Regions from separate parts of the Homo sapiens genome. Here region 1 is linked to region 2. Evidence: promoter capture Hi-C in human tissues and cell types (Jung and others, 2019). All regions are on one chromosome and are shown on one strand. The core of a region is centred on a gene start or on the middle of the fragment in contact, and the rest is flanking DNA. Distances in the headings are between cores, read along the strand shown.

What was found. Contacts are between HindIII fragments. The study calls those that stand out against the background at their distance.
Region 1: a fragment that was not itself captured here is called in contact with the fragment with the promoter of KLLN in region 2 in 1 of the 25 tissues and cell types used here (aorta).

What each region holds. Positions count from the first base shown.
Region 1 is chr10:88,903,101-88,907,317 of GRCh38, reverse strand. STAMBPL1 (STAM binding protein like 1) reads right to left here. Exons shown (of 11, transcript NM_020799.4): 3 at 1,658-1,875. Among named protein-coding and RNA genes, the nearest start is that of STAMBPL1, 25 kb to the right of the region's middle. The HindIII fragment of the contact is 3,678 bases long and covers 438-4,115 here.
Region 2 is chr10:87,862,261-87,867,004 of GRCh38, reverse strand. It overlaps KLLN (killin, p53 regulated DNA replication inhibitor), which reads left to right and starts at 3,472. Exons shown (of 1, transcript NM_001126049.2): 1 at 3,472-4,744. The coding sequence starts at 4,518. MLDHR (mitochondrial lactate dehydrogenase regulator) reads right to left here and starts at 3,446. Exons shown (of 1, transcript NM_001433720.1): 1 at 3,351-3,446. The coding sequence starts at 3,446. The coding sequence ends at 3,351. PTEN (phosphatase and tensin homolog) reads right to left here and starts at 3,380. Exons shown (of 9, transcript NM_000314.8): 1 at 2,457-3,380. The coding sequence starts at 2,535. RefSeq lists silencers at 3,086-3,225, 3,316-3,625 and enhancers at 4,226-4,405, 4,656-4,744. The HindIII fragment of the contact is 9,209 bases long and covers 1-4,744 here.

The DNA of each region.
Region 1 (4,217 bases), core at 1,027-3,526, 1.0 Mb before region 2:
CAGTAACTTGAATAAAATGCAGATCTCAATTTTTGCATACCATGTAAACTGCCTTTAATTTTGCCCTCGGTAGAATCATGGAAGGCAATTTTTAAAATATTGTATCTTTCAACTTCTTAAATGTTCTCAGGCTAAGCCCCTGACTAAGCTAGTGATATTATATGTGAAATAAGCCAGGCACAGAAACACAAATACTGCATGATCTCACTTACAATGTAGAAGGAATCTAAAATAGTTGAATTCACAGGGGGGCAGAGAGTAGTCTGGTAGCTATCAGAGTTCCAGCAGTTGAGGATGGGGGTGAGATGTTGGTCAAAGGATACAAAATTTCAGTTAGACAGGAGGAATAAGTTCAGGAGGTCCAGTGTATATGATGATTATACTTAATAACAATGTATTGCATAATTATGCAGCTTGGGTCTGGCACAGTAGCTCATGCCTATAATCCCAGGACTTTGGGAGGTCAAAGCAGGAGGATCACTTGCATCCAGGAGTTGGAGATCAGCCTGGGCAACATAGTAAGATCCCATCTCTACAAAAATAAAAAATTAGCTGAGCATGGTGACACATGCCTGTAGTCCCAGCTACTCGGGAGGCTGAGGTGGGAGGATCACTTGAGCCAGGGAGGTCGAGGCTGCAGTGAGCTATGATTGTGCCACTGCACTCAGCCTGTGCAACAGGGAGACCCTGTCTCAATAAAAGGTCTGTGAGGTAATAAATATGTTAATTGTCTTGACTTGGTCATTCCACAATATAAGCATATATGTATCAAAACATGTTGCATACCACAAATACATATAATTTTTATTTGTCAACTTAAATAAAATTAATAAATAATAAGCTAGCAAAAGTAATCGGCATGTGACTTTCAATTAAAAAAAAGAAGGTTCATCTTAGAAGATATAATTATTGATGACAGGACATCCTTTCAACTAGTAAGTTACCAGATTTATAGTAAGGAAAGACGAAGTCCCATTTCTGTTAACTCTTAAACTAGGATATGTCACTAACAAATATCTGTCTAATAGGAAACATGATACTCTGACATGGCTGTTTTGATGTAGCCACTTTTACTCAACATTTTGACAGCTCTTTTGTACATAGTGTTCTTAATAGCCAAATAAAATGTTTTTTAAAAAGAAATAATAAGTGCTATATGAAACTTGAATGAGTTTCCTGAACCTATCCCTGAACCTGAATCAGATCTTTCCTGTGTCTCCCAACTTGTCCCCTAGACTCAACCCACCAAATCAAATTTTTTAAATGTTGATGGCATGTTCTAGGTGCTATAAATGGAGCTGCACTGTAGTTCCTGCTCTCATAAAGCTTCCATTTCTGTCGGGGAAAATCGCATGAAAAAATAAATTATATTTAAGAAGAGTGAAACATGTATTAAATAGATTACTATGCTGGCCTTGGAAAGGAAATCTGATAACCCTGAGCCTCCTGCCCTCCCTGACCCTAAGCCTCAGAGATGGTGTTGGGATGCCTGTGAGTACATTAGTTGGTAATTTAAAAACTTGAACATTTAATGCTCCTAGAGACTGTGCAATTGGTCTGAATATGAAAACATTACTGATACCCAAACTGCCACATCAAAATAACTATGTAAATATTTTTCCAATTTTCTCACTTCAGAGGCCTTTAAAACACTTACGTTATAAATTTATTATAAAGAACAAAGGCATTTTCCAAATTTCCTTCTTCCAAATACACAGACGCCATCCTCTCCATCTCTACTCCAGACCTAAAGTAACGTCGTGGAGTGATGTCTTCACTGATGGTGATATTACAACCAAGCTTGCTTAGGGCACGGACTCGCTCTTCTGGGCTTAGGGAAACATCTGTATGGTCAGGCATAGCAGCTAACTTTTTCTGCAAAGCAAAATTTAAATCTCTGATTAACTGTTGATTATAGTAAGAAAAGGATATGACTAATATTATGGACATATGTTCTTTATGAGGAACCTAACACCATTACCTAAGGAAATCTTTTCATAAGTTAATGATATAATCAAAGTAAAGCATTTTTGCTTAAACATGCTTTATACAACAAAAATACATGGTTTATACAACAAAAAGACAAACCTCCAAGGTAAACATACAGTTTTATTGGAGTGGGATCTCACTTTAGGTTTCAGGGTATGCAAATGTTTCAGGTCATTTTAGGTAAAATATCATTGCTCCTCATATCCCTGTGCATGCTTCTATCTGGGATCATCTGAAGCAGGTCATAAGATGAATTCCTGCCATTGTAGGGTTCATGTCAGTCTACTCTGAAGGGTCTCCAAGGAGGTAACTTGGATTCAAGTTACTATAAAGATTCAATTCTATTCCAGAATAAGTGTTGTTTAGTAAGAAATTTTCAGGGCTTCTCTGCATCTTCATTGAGTTAAAAAAAAAACAACCCACAAGTAAGTCCTGGAGAAGCCTTTTCAAGCATAAGAATGCCCCTCCCATTTTTTTTAACATAAAAAGAATCTCAGACCTCCATATAATAGTAAGTACACTGTTAAATTAGTCCTTGACTAAGAAAATAATGATATGTTACTAAGAAATGTCAGTGATAGCAATTTGAATTTTATTAATAAAAACAGCATCTATACACTTTTGGTAAAGCATAGAACATATGCAATTCAGAATAATTATTCAATAAAAAGTCGGTGCTTCAGAAAGGAAATTTTCTCTGTTAAGTGCCACATAGCAAGTATCTTAGGCTCTGCTAGCCATATGGTTTCCATTGCAACTTGAATTCAGCTCTCAGCATGAAAGTCACCATAAACAATATGGATAAAAATGACCCTGGCTGTGTCCCCTAAATGTTTATTTATAAAAGCAAGTGGGTGGTTTGGCCCTTACACCATAGTTTGCTGACCCCTGCTTTAGACCAGCATGTTTCAAAGCATGGTCCATGTACTGGCAGCATCAGCATCAACTGGGAGTTTCTTACAAATGCAAATTCCTAACAGGTCTCACCTCAGACCTATAGTCAGGATCTCTGGAGTTAGGCAGGAGAATCAATGTTTTAATCCATCTTTCCAGAGGTACTTATGCCTGTACAGTTTGAGAAGCAAGGCTTTAGACCAACCCCTTCTACCATTGCTGGATGCTCCCAGAACAGAGTTAGTCTAGAGCAAATTTAGCTTCTCAAGGCCGCCTTGGTCAGTTAAGGGTAGGTTGCAAGTCTGACTACTGTGTGGGTGGAGCACTTCATTCAAGTCTGTAGAAAGCTATAAAAGAAGTCAAGGTAAGCATACTTTTAGTCTGGCCATGAATTACCGAGCCAACCTTCAGGGACAGGGTATAGTGAATTAGATATCTGGAGTTCTTCCAATGCCATCTGGTCTACTTTGGTGGTAATTTTATAGCCAATAGAACCTCAGAGATCTGAAATGATTCTTGGTCCTAAAGGTTTAATATGTAACCAGAGACCCATAAACTTGTTTCTCAAGGCTTCATTAAGTAAGAACCATACCATGTCCCTTGTACATTTTATTACGTGGCTTCCCCACATCAGAGACAGAAATTGGAGTTTCTGAACTTTGAGCCTCGGGCTTCAGTATATAGTCTTTTCAATTGAGATGTCTCAAAAGCTACAGCAATCCATCCACTTTTCCCTAACCACACTCGGCTATAGAACTCAACAGCACCAAAAGAAAATATTGTCATTTGACACAGATAATTGCTTCAATGACATCAGAAAAATGACTAGAAAAAAAATCTATGAAAATCAGAATGTTCTCTAAAGGGGGTTCCAGCCTCTCATATGTATAAAAGTAATGTATTCATATTTTACTACTACTTAGTCCACACTGAGTTATAATTATTTCTGTACAAGTGTATCTGATCCCTTATGAACTCCTTGGGGTTTTAAAAGGGATCATTTTCCATTTATCTCTGTTCCCTAGAATGTAGCATATTCCCTGCCACATAAGTGATGATTAATAGGTATATCAAATAAAAGACAGACGGAAGTGAGAGAAGGAAGCAACAAGAGATTATAATTAGTTTTTTTTCCCTGAAAATGAAAATTAGATTGATTTTTCCTCTTCTGAATGGACCTTCCCAAATTTAAAACTGATTTCAAAGATAAGCTGGAAAATAACCTAAAGTCTTCATCAATCTATAATATTTCATTTGCATGCAGACTTCTTGGATGAAAACACAAATTTTCCAGATAAAAAGCCTTTGTGTTCATTTTTACAGTGACATATACA
Region 2 (4,744 bases), core at 2,223-4,722:
AATAAACAGAAAACATTAACGTGAAAACAAGCAAACCAAGTACGTTGGAATATCAAAATTATTGGGAGTGCAATTATCAAAAAAGCAAGCACTTCACTGACTTTCCTTACTGACTTTTTTTCATATCAACTTTTGGCTCAATAAAACCACAACTCTAGAAATTAAGTGTTATTAGTCATTTGACGCAATATTTGATACTGCTTTCTATGCATATCATAACTAAAAGTACAGTTTTAGAGAAAGTTTTAAGTCACACAAATTTCATGTGTAGAGACCAACATACGCTGAAATCAAAGAAAATGCCAGTCATGTCACAGCTCACATGTAAAAACCTGGTAAAATAATTTTAAGGTCTTAATAACCCTGATAATTTAAAATCAAGTGGGAAAAGTAAAAGTAGTGTGTTATGTACTTTAAGTGCTGAAAGAAATCTGTCTCCCAGACAGCATTCAATTATTTTCTTCAAAGGCTTTTTTTTCAAAGTTACATAAACATTTAATTTTTTGTTCCTATATATTTGGATGACTGTCAGTAATTCATGCTAATAGTAGACTGCTTTGGAAGTCACAAAAGAATTTTTCCATAATTATCTTCTGGGCAAGCGGGTCCAGTTTAGCCTTAGTAACATTCTCAATTAATGTCAACTTCAAAATTTGCAAATACTCTTTTAAAATAATATTTTTGGCTTAACAGAAAACTAAATTTTGGGAAGCTACTTCTTCAGTAAGTTTTACATTCATTTCAAAACAAAAACTTGGGCAAAATTAACTGTGCACATTTATATGCAGCTAACATAATCCAACGGAATAAAACCTCTCCCGATATAAACGCTGTCTTAAAAAAAAATATTCCCCACAATTTTTAGCAGGACATATAGACACTGTAGTGTCACTCTACCTTTAGACAAAATGCAACTGACATTTGCTAAGAAATAACTTTTATTAAAAATACTGTGCTAGTACTTATGCAATTACATAATTTTAACTAAATATTGTCCACTGCCACAATTCGCATTACCAAACTCATATTACCAAATTTTAGGCCTTGATAGAGCCTAAATGCTTCAGTCACTTCAGACCAATAACTTAATTCTGTTTTCACATACCTTATACACTGGCCTACCAATAGCTCTCAATTCCTGTCAATACTTTCCCCATTCTGCAAAAAGAGGGCCCCATCCCCATCCCTAATCAAAACCAATGTGTTGTACCTGAAACTGCAAAGATTAATGCTTTTCGATGACCACTAACTTTTGAAGCCCGAAGGCCTAACTTTTAGACAACTAAAGCTACACACTGTTAAAATTCTTGGGCTTCTGTCTTATTCAGCAAGCTGACTCAGTAAATTTAATACACTGTATGAAAAAAGCTAACATACCTACAATCTAAAGCTGGAGTAAACCCCTCTTGCCAGCATTTCTAGATATTAGCTGGTAAAATACAACTGACATTCTACACAAATCAGTAAAATTAACGATACCAAAAGGTGTCAGAGGACCTGAAACCTAAAAACGGTGAGCAGCAATTCTGGCATCACAACAATACTTAAATTTCAAGCATGAACTGAAGTTTTATTTCTGCAATCTTCACTTGCTACACACAATACCCTTGAACCTACACATTACCATCTGGGATCAGAAACTACTCAATATCCATTCTATGTTTATGACAAGAGCACTGAACATTAAATGCTACTGAAGTGCAAATTTCAAGCACTATCCTACATCACCCCATAGGGAGAGAAAAAGGTAAATATAACAAAGATCTAGTAAGAACGCCTTATAAGGTATATTATGGCACTATTGACTTCAAACTACAAAACTTCTACATACAGTTCAAAGTTGTAGGTAACTTAAGTTTAAACATTAACAAAACTACTTTTTGCCCTCAATGTGCACCATATATACTGAAAATGATTCTGCTTCTAAAGTTATGCAAATCAGTCATATTTTAAAAGAATCTATCAATGCAACTCAGGAAACTAAAACAATCACTGCAAGATTCTGATGCAATATGCGTACGTGCAACACTAATTTTCATTTTATTCTGATCTAAACCCTTGATCTAGGGCCTAAGCCAAGATTTAATCGAAATATGCTCAACCTCAAAAAGCGTCTACTTTTTTGTTCATTTAGGAGACCGGATTACCGAGCTCGCTAATCCACTAACAGTGTACTGTATTCTGTATTAACGGACAATAGCCCTCAGGAAGAGACCATATAGATAGCCTAAGAAAGCAATCGGTGGCTTGACACTTGCAACCAGGCAAGAGTTCCGTCTAGCCAAACACACCCTAGGTTGAATACACAGAAAGGAAACACAAAATATATGACCTAGCAACCTGACCAGGGTTAAATGTTATAGTCACCCAAACTACGGACATTTTCGCATCCGTCTACTCCCACGTTCTAAGAGAGTGACAGAAAGGTAAAGAGGAGCAGCCGCAGAAATGGATACAGGTCAAGTCTAAGTCGAATCCATCCTCTTGATATCTCCTTTTGTTTCTGCTAACGATCTCTTTGATGATGGCTGTCATGTCTGGGAGCCTGTGGCTGAAGAAAAAGGAGGAGAGAGATGGCAGAAGCTGCTGGTGGCGGGGCTTCTTCTGCAGGATGGAAATGGCTCTGGACTTGGCGGTAGCTGATGCCCCTCGCTCTGCCGCCGCTTGGCTCTGGACCGCAGCCGGGTAATGGCTGCTGCGGCGGCTGCTGGATGGTTGCAGCGACTGGGCCTGCTTCTCCTCAGCAGCCAGAGGCCTGGCAGCGGCGGCAGCGGAATGGGGAGAAGACGAATAATCCTCCGAACGGCTGCCTCCGCCGGCGGCCTCCGGAGCCCGGGCCACGGGGGGTGCGGCGGCGGCGCACGGGAGGTTTAAAACCGGCCCGGGTCCCTGGATGTGCCAGCCGCCGCCGCCGCCGTGTTGGAGGCAGTAGAAGGGGAGAGACCAACTCTCCGGCGTTCCCAGCCCTGGAAATGGTGACAGGCGACTCAGACCCCCTCCCTGGAGCTGCAGCCGCCGCGGCCGCCGCCGCCGCCGCTTCTCCCCCCCGCTCCAGGAGCGGGAGGTGCCGCCGCCGCCGCCGCGCCTCAGCCGGCTCCCGCCCGAGCCCACGGCTTCCACCTTCCCTTTCAGGAGAAGCCGAGGAAGAGGCTGCACGGTTAGAAAAGACGAAGAGGAGGCGAGAAACGCCGCCGCTGCCGCCGCCGCAGGCCGGCCGGCTCCCCGAGGGCGCTGCCCCCGCGGCTGCTCACAGGCGCTGAGAGGGGCTCCGGGCCGCGGCCGCCGCCGTCTCTCATCTCCCTCGCCTGAGCCCGGCCTCGCCTCACAGCGGCTCAACTCTCAAACTTCCATCATGGCTGCAGCTTCCGAGAGGAGAGAACTGAGCGCAGTCGCGTCCCAGCGCCGAGCGCGTATCCTGCCGCAGCGCATAAAGAGTCCCGCCACATCACCGCCCGCCGGCCTGCCCGCCCCCTCCGCCGCCGCGCCGGGAGCCCGGGCGCCTCGGAAGACCGAGGGGAGGCGGGAGGCGAGCGAGAGGCGGACGGGACCGCGCCGGGCGAGGGGAGGGCAGGGCAGGGCAGGGGGCGGTAGGAGGGGGCAGAGCGGTAGCTCTGGGTGCGAGCGCAGAGTCCCCAAGCCGCAGGCTCTACTGAGCATGCCCAGTGTAGCTGCCTGGGGCTTGCTCGGGCCGGTTCCCAGCCGCCAGCCTGCAGCTGCACTTGCTGCGGCTTTTGCAGCAACGCGAGGCGAGGATAACGAGCTAAGCCTCGGCCTCTGCCCAGAAACCCAGCCGGAGGCAGGGTAGGCTGTTGTGGGGCGGGGGTGGAGGACTGATGATGAAAGCTGAGATGGGTGCGTTGAGCAGTGTCACTGACTCGAGTCTGAGGTTACCTGTGCACAGGTGAAAAGGACCAGGTGACCACGCTGCTCAGTGTAGAGGGAAATGCAGGGACGGTCCCTGCAAGGGGAATACCCTCCCCCCTTGCCTCTACCCCTAGATTTCCGCGGCGTGGACTGCATTCGCTCTTTCCTTTTGCACCGCTGTCGGATCACAATCGTTCGCAGAGATTTGACTGTAACAGCCTTTGCCTAGAGATTCCCCCTTCCCCCAAATCTGTGTCCTCATGGTGTCAGTCTTAGCACAAAGAGCAACCTGCTATTGTGTCGCCAGCGTGTATCACCTCATCCGGCTCCCTTGCAGCGCCCCACCTCTCGCTTCCCCGGTAACTCGGCTCGTTTGCCCTAAAAATGAAAGCTCTCAGCCGAGCGTGCTGAACGTGAACACATAGCCGTTGAATTTCAAGGGCCCAAAGGGCACCTATCTAAATGAACTGAAAGAGGATCCCTGTGAGTGGGACGCACCCCGCAGGCCTCTCCTGCGCCCGCTCCGGTGCCCCCAAGAGAGTCGAGCATCTTTCCCCTCGGGCTCCAGGTCGGTTCGCGGCGTCGGAGTCAAGCTCGGTTCTCAGAGACCACCTAGCCCCGCCCCCCCTTGGCCGCCGTGAAAACCCGGCAGGATGGATCGCCCGGGGCCAGGCTCCGCGCGCCCCGGCCGGACCGTGCACGTTTGGGGTTACCGGGTTGAGTGGAAAGTACGGAACGGTAGGAAGCTGCAGCCCAGCGAGTGGGCGGGGCGAGGAGACCTAGGAGGGTTCAAAAGGAGGTGGAAGGATACACGGGCCACAGTCGGAACTACTTTCCGAAGGAGGTCACGTGTGTCCCTAGTTGGGGAACTTTCCAAATT